Linked DNA regions of Homo sapiens: region 1 is linked to region 2. The links are contacts of gene promoters, found by promoter capture Hi-C in human tissues and cell types (Jung and others, 2019). All regions are on one chromosome and are shown on one strand. The core of a region is centred on a gene start or on the middle of the fragment in contact, and the rest is flanking DNA. Distances in the headings are between cores, read along the strand shown. Region 1 overlaps SPTB (spectrin beta, erythrocytic). Region 2 holds the start of SPTB (spectrin beta, erythrocytic).

What was found. The method cuts DNA at HindIII sites, captures the fragments that hold promoters and counts their contacts. A contact is called where the count stands out against the background at its distance.
Region 1: a contact is called between a fragment that was not itself captured here and the fragment with the promoter of SPTB in region 2, in 2 of the 25 tissues and cell types used here (H1 embryonic stem cells and liver).

The regions. Positions count from the first base shown.
Region 1 is chr14:64,841,790-64,844,959 of GRCh38, forward strand. All of the region lies in intron 1 of SPTB (spectrin beta, erythrocytic), which reads right to left. Among named protein-coding and RNA genes, the nearest start is that of SPTB, 37 kb to the right of the region's middle. The HindIII fragment of the contact is 9,697 bases long and covers 1-3,170 here.
Region 2 is chr14:64,878,524-64,881,271 of GRCh38, forward strand. It overlaps SPTB (spectrin beta, erythrocytic), which reads right to left and starts at 1,384. Exons shown (of 36, transcript NM_001355436.2): 1 at 1,269-1,384. LOC105370534 (a long non-coding RNA gene) reads right to left here. Exons shown (of 3, transcript XR_943942.3): 3 at 2,358-2,748. RefSeq lists silencers at 1,495-1,664, 1,715-1,854, 1,925-2,004. The HindIII fragment of the contact is 6,743 bases long and covers 1-2,748 here.

The DNA of each region.
Region 1 (3,170 bases), core at 668-3,167, 36 kb before region 2:
TTACCTATTTGCAAAAGAAGGGAAACCCCCGCGTATGGAACCAGAAGAGGGTTTCTTGCAGAAGGTGCCCCAAGGTGTTGCAGTTTGATAACGCTCTCCTCATATCTGTTAAAGAGCGCGGCAAATGTTATCTGGAAGCAGCCGGGACAAGAGCACCCCCAGTTCTGAGCACAGTAACTGGGCTACTCAGAAGTTCCACTGAACGGCATGTCAGTGCCTTACCAATAGTCACACTGAGCTGCTTGCAAAGTAACTGCCACCACATTCCTTTCTTAAAGTGGCCTGATTCCAAAGAGCTTGCCTAGAGCAAGGGGCAGAAGAGCTGCCAAGTGCCTGCCATTTCCAGGAAGGCGCGTGTGCGGGGCCATGGTGGTGGACACATAAGCCAGCATAGGTCATTTGAAAGGTGCAGAGAAGTGAGTGGTCATTGCTAAAATAGTCTGCAAGCAACTCTAAAATGCTCGCCACATCTCGTTTCCTAGTACATGGTAGCAGTACTCCTTCGTTCAGCAAGGGCTGGAGCCAGTTTCCAGAAAGAGCCAGAGGGTAGCAGGCAGGGGATTTCATGGCAGAAATAGTAGACTAAGGTAACTTTGATCCGGGGACGTGAACCAGGCAGTAGGGGGTAGTGGTTAGGTATATCTGGAGTTAGAATGCCTGGGGATGTCTCTGGACTTAGCCACTTAGTAGCTGGGAGCCCTAGGCCATTTACTTATAGTCCGTAAGCCTCTATTTCTTCATCTGTAAGATGAAGTTAGTAATAGTCATCACCTCACAGCACTGCTGTTTGGATCAAATGAGATAATGTATTTAAAGTCCTTAATAGCGTGTCAGACACGGAGTATACAGGCTCTGAATCTGTGTGGTCTACAAACATTGCTCTAAGGTTGCTGCTGTTTCCACAGCTCAGAAGAACAAATTGTTAGCCCCTTTTGTGCCTCAGTTTCTCCAATTATAAAATAGCAACTACACCCCCCTCTACTTGTGGCACTTAAAAATGGGGACATATAGGCTGGATGCAGTGGCTCCCAACACTTTGGGAGGCTAAAGCAGGAGGACCACTTGAACCCAGGAGTTTGAGACCAGCCTGGGAAACAGAGAGACCCTGTCTCTATAAAAAATAAAAAATTAGCCAGGCATGGTGGCACACACCTATAGTCTCAGCTATTTGAGAGGCTGGGGTGGGAGGATCACTTGAGCCTGGGGCTGAGGCTGCAGTGAGCTGTGATCACACCACTGCACTCCAGCCTGGGTGACAGAATGAGACCCTGTCTCAAAAAAAAAGGGGGAGGGAAGACATATAGAAGTAGAAACTTTTTATCATCAGACATAGGCTATCCAGCGTTTACATGGGTACTGGCCATCTTGCCCTTTTTGGGCATCTGTGTAGATTCTGTAAATCCTGGATGACAGGTTTCTGATGAAAACAAATAGCCTATATTTTGTGCTTCTCAAGGCTTTTACAGGGCCAGGAGAAGACACGCAGAGGCAACCACATCTCTTCTGTGATGCCTGAGACACGTCTACAGAAGAGATGCTTGGGGCAGGATGCAGAGCAGTCACGCAGTTACTACTCAAGGTCTGTCATGTTGTTGCCCCCTCATTTCCCTCCATAAAAAGGGGAAAAGATGTTTTTATACTTCACTGGGGAAAAAAAAACCCAAACCAATGTTTGAATGTTTGCCACCATTCTTCACAACAAGCAAAGCAGTAAATTCCTTACTCTCTCATTTTCACTTGGTCACAGCCCCATCGCAGCTCCCTTGTTTCCATCACAACCCTTAGTCTCCGGTAGTAGGAAAAAAGGCATGAGTGTGACATTTTGTCAAGGGTTAGGACAGGCTTTAGTCTTGCTCTGGCGGCTGCTTTCTTTGAATAAAGGCCATCGCTGTCAAGCCAACCTGAGGACCACGACTGGGAGAGAAGAGTGGGTGTGAACAGACGGGAATGCTGCCTGCTCACCTTGGCAACACCCCTTGCCAGGCTTGGAGCATAGCAATAGTCACCGCCTGCTCTAAGCATTAGCCCATGTGCCTTGCCCTGAACCATTCTGTGCTCAATGCAGAATTTACCCATTCTCCTGACTGGACTCTCTAAGCACCATCACCACCACCAGCCTCCCATCCCAGCACAGAGCTGTGCATTAGCCTATGTTCACACAGGACCATTGTTAATTTGGGATATTTCCTTTCAGCCACCCTAATGTGTTTTATCAAATTGTTTTTAATTATAAAAGTGACATATGCCAGGTCTTTAGCAAATCCCAACAAAAAAAGGCTACAGTTGAGATCCAACAAGAGTGGACCTACCCATCCTCAAAATGGTACACCCAGGCTGGGTAGAGAATCTTCACGAAGAATGTGATGGCCATGATCTCCAAGAGTGCTTAGCAGGAGTCATGGAGAAAAAAAAAATGAGAGCTAGAAAGCCCAGCCTGTCTTTATTATTATAGTTACCCTTGACTGCCAGCAAATGCACGTCCTCAGTTGTGAATTATCCACCTATGTGTGAAGGGACCAGGTCCCAACACACAATAGGAATTTATATCCCCAACAACAGACATTTGTAGAATACCATCACCCCCAACAACGAAACAACCATGTTTAGTGAGTACTTAGAACATGTGAGGCACCATGCTAAGTGCCTGACATACATACCTCCTTTCATCATCAGTGCTCTCCTGTGAGTGATTTTCACTTCTCCATTTTATAAATGAAGAAACTGAAGCTCACAGAAGTTAAGCTACTTGCCCAAAGTCACACAACTGTGAGAAGCCTGATGCCGGTCTGACAGCAGAACTTTAGGATGAATTGTCTCTAATGATAAATTTCAGCTTTGTTAATAACAGTCCAGCAATTCACATTAACATTTAGCAGGGCTTTAATTGAAAAGTAACATGAAGAAGAGGCTATGACTTCCCAAAAACACCTACTCTTTGCAAGTCAGATTTACTATTCTCCCCAACTCCCTATCCCATTTCTACTAAAAATAGCCCAACATTTCCAAAATACATCCAAATCACATTCCAGAGATTCCACCTGATCTCAGTGTTTGGAAAGATGTCTGCCTCCCATTCCCTTTGTGATCGCAGCATGCAACTTTGGAGATGGAGAAGAAGATGATCTTCCTAAAACTTCTGAGCATTTCATATTGTTAACCTGACCAGAAAT
Region 2 (2,748 bases), core at 134-2,633:
AATTCTAGAATAAAATTCAGAGCCATCTGTGAAGCTAAGGATAGGACAGTGGACAGTTGAGCTGTGCCTAAAAATCTTTGATTTGCAGACTCCTCTCATTAGGGAGCCGCCTGAATCTCTTCCCTTAGAAACTAAAATACGGATCGTGACTACCTCCAGGCAGGGGTTTTGCATGACTGCCTCCTACCTGGAGGTGACAGCCTAGTCTCTCCCCACAGAAATTCTCAGTACAAAAAGGCTGTCACTATATCCCCCCACCCCACCCCCCAATCTGATGCATCTAAAATTTAGATGTACAAAAAACAGTGGCTTCTTTTCATTTTCCTTACTCCTGGCTGGCGCCTCTAATTGCTCACTGAAAACAGTGGTTTGGATATTAATAGGCTGTAACTCAAGGCCCTACCTGAAGCTCGTTGTCAGGGAAACAGCACTCCAGCCCCGCAGCTGCTTCCCCAGCCTGGGAAGTACGGATGAGTTGGTGGGAGTTGGGGATTGTTTTACAGCTTCTGTTATTTCTCCCACTTTCTGCTATTTCTCAAGACCAAGTTAGAGGAAGAGGGGAAACTGGAGAGGAGGGTGAGGGTAGAGTAGCCCGGAGAAGCTTAGAGGAAGAGAGGAACTCTTTGGGAGAGGAAGACTAGGGGTCCTTGAAGTATGGCTTGGGGCACTAGGATCTTTCCTCCCTCGGTCTACACGGGGTCACTCTCTGGGTGGCTCCCAGCACCCGGAGGCCCGGCCCCCTCTGCTGCCCTCACCTGTCCCTCCTGCCTGGGCGCTGGGTGGCCCGAGGAGAGCGCAGCCAAGTTCCCCAGAAGAGGGATATGAGCGGCCACAAGGCTGAGAAGCCGGACAAAAAAAGGCAGAGAGCAGCGCTGCGGTCGGACGGGCTAGAGGCGCAATCCCCTTCGCTCCCAGGCCGGGGTCCTGGAGAAGGCGGACGAGAACACGCACCCCCGTCACCCTCTCCCTGCGCCCCGGGGTGACGGACTCTCCGGGATCCCGCTCTCCAAAGCTAGCACCAAGTGCCTCGGACGCCCGCGCGCGTTCCCGCGTCCCGGGATGATCTTTGCCGCAGCTGCCGGGCTTCCCGGGCCCCGCACCCCTCCCACCCCACGCCCGACAACCGGGGCTGGACTCCCACCCGGTCCTCTGGGCCCTGCGCGTCAGGCGCCCCCTGGGCCCAGCGCTCCTTTGAGCTGGCGCCGCGCGTCCCAGCCTTGCGCACCCGCACCCAGCTCCCTTGGCCGCCGGGCCCTCCTGGGACTCACCTGCCCTGGGACTGAAGCGGGGGCCACCCCGAGCCCGGGGGTGGCGGCGGCGGCGGCGCAGGGGGAGGAGGGCAGCGCGGGGCTCCTGGCACAGCGGCCGCCGGGCGCCTGGTGCTGCCGAGCCGCGGACCCGCCCAGAGATATAAATAACATTATCTGAGGAGGGACATTCCTGCCGGGGGACATCGCTGCTGCCGGGACCAGATAGTCCCGCGGCGGGGGCGGGGAGGCGGGGCCGCAGCCTCCCGCAGCGCCAAGCCCAGCCCCCGCCTTCCCCACCCACTCACGCACCTGCCAATCAGCCTCCGCGCCTGGGGGCACCTGCCGGGCCTCAGCCCGGCTCCTGGAACCCGCCTCTGCCTCCCCGCCCGCCGCTGAGCCTGGGGCGCCTCCATCGTCGTTCATTGCCCCTAACCCCGCGCCACCCCGAGCCCCCTGAGGCGGGAAGGGGGTTGGACTCTAGCTCGGGCCTAATTCGTGCGCCCGGAGAGGCAAGCCTGGTGGCGAAAATGAGCCCTCCAGCCTTTCCCGCCCTGCATCCCCACTGCACACAGTTCAGTTTTTAAAATATATGAAAAGACATTTAGGCCATAGGGTGGGCGCGGCGGGTACCCGGGAGGTGAACCCCCGCCGTGGCGGGTTTGGGAGGGACAGATTGTTCCCGGGGGCTGGTGCATTAGAAAGCGCGCTCCCGGGCGGGCTTCTCTCGGCTGGCGGTGGGAGGGCAGGGGGCGGGCACTGGGCCCGAGGGCCCCACCCCCAGCCCGAGCTCAGTGTCGCTGTTTCTGCCCGAAAACCTAGTGTAATCAGGACGAACCAGGCAAAGCTGGCGGCGCGCAGCCTGCAGTCCCAAGGAGCTCGCACATTGTAGGGACTGTAATCAACAGGCAGGCTGCCACACCTGCCCACTGGCACCTCCTGGCCGGCCCGGGTCTCCGGGCGAGTGGGGGTGCCTCACTACAAGCCTGGATGAGGCGCGGCGCAGCAGGCCAGAGGAAATACTAGAACCGATGGTGCCAAAAAGGCATCTCCGAGTTGCCCCCGGAGAGAAACTCAATAGAACACCGGCAGCTTGCAAGGCAGTACATTTTCTTGACTTTCTAACGATCAAGGTCATTGTTCAGTAAGGTTTACGTGTACGCCTTGAGGTAGCTTTCATCTCTTTTCTCCACCTGCGGTGCCTGGGATGATTTCTCACCAGCTATCAACGCAGGTAATCTCAGGTATTATGGAAATGGCCGTGGAGATTAAAAGCGCATAGATGCAGAAGAAGTTTTAACTTTTACTGATGCTGCCTGGTGTTCTTAACAAGGGAACAGTCTTACTCCTGAGTTATTTGCTTGGGATTATAATTGTGCTGTTTTCCAGAATTCACCCAGGAAAGGGGTGTTTGCCAGATGTTCGAGTTTAGTTTATATATTGAACATATGCAAAGATACTTCACTTCCTGCTGCAGTCCCACTTCTTGAGGGTGGGTATT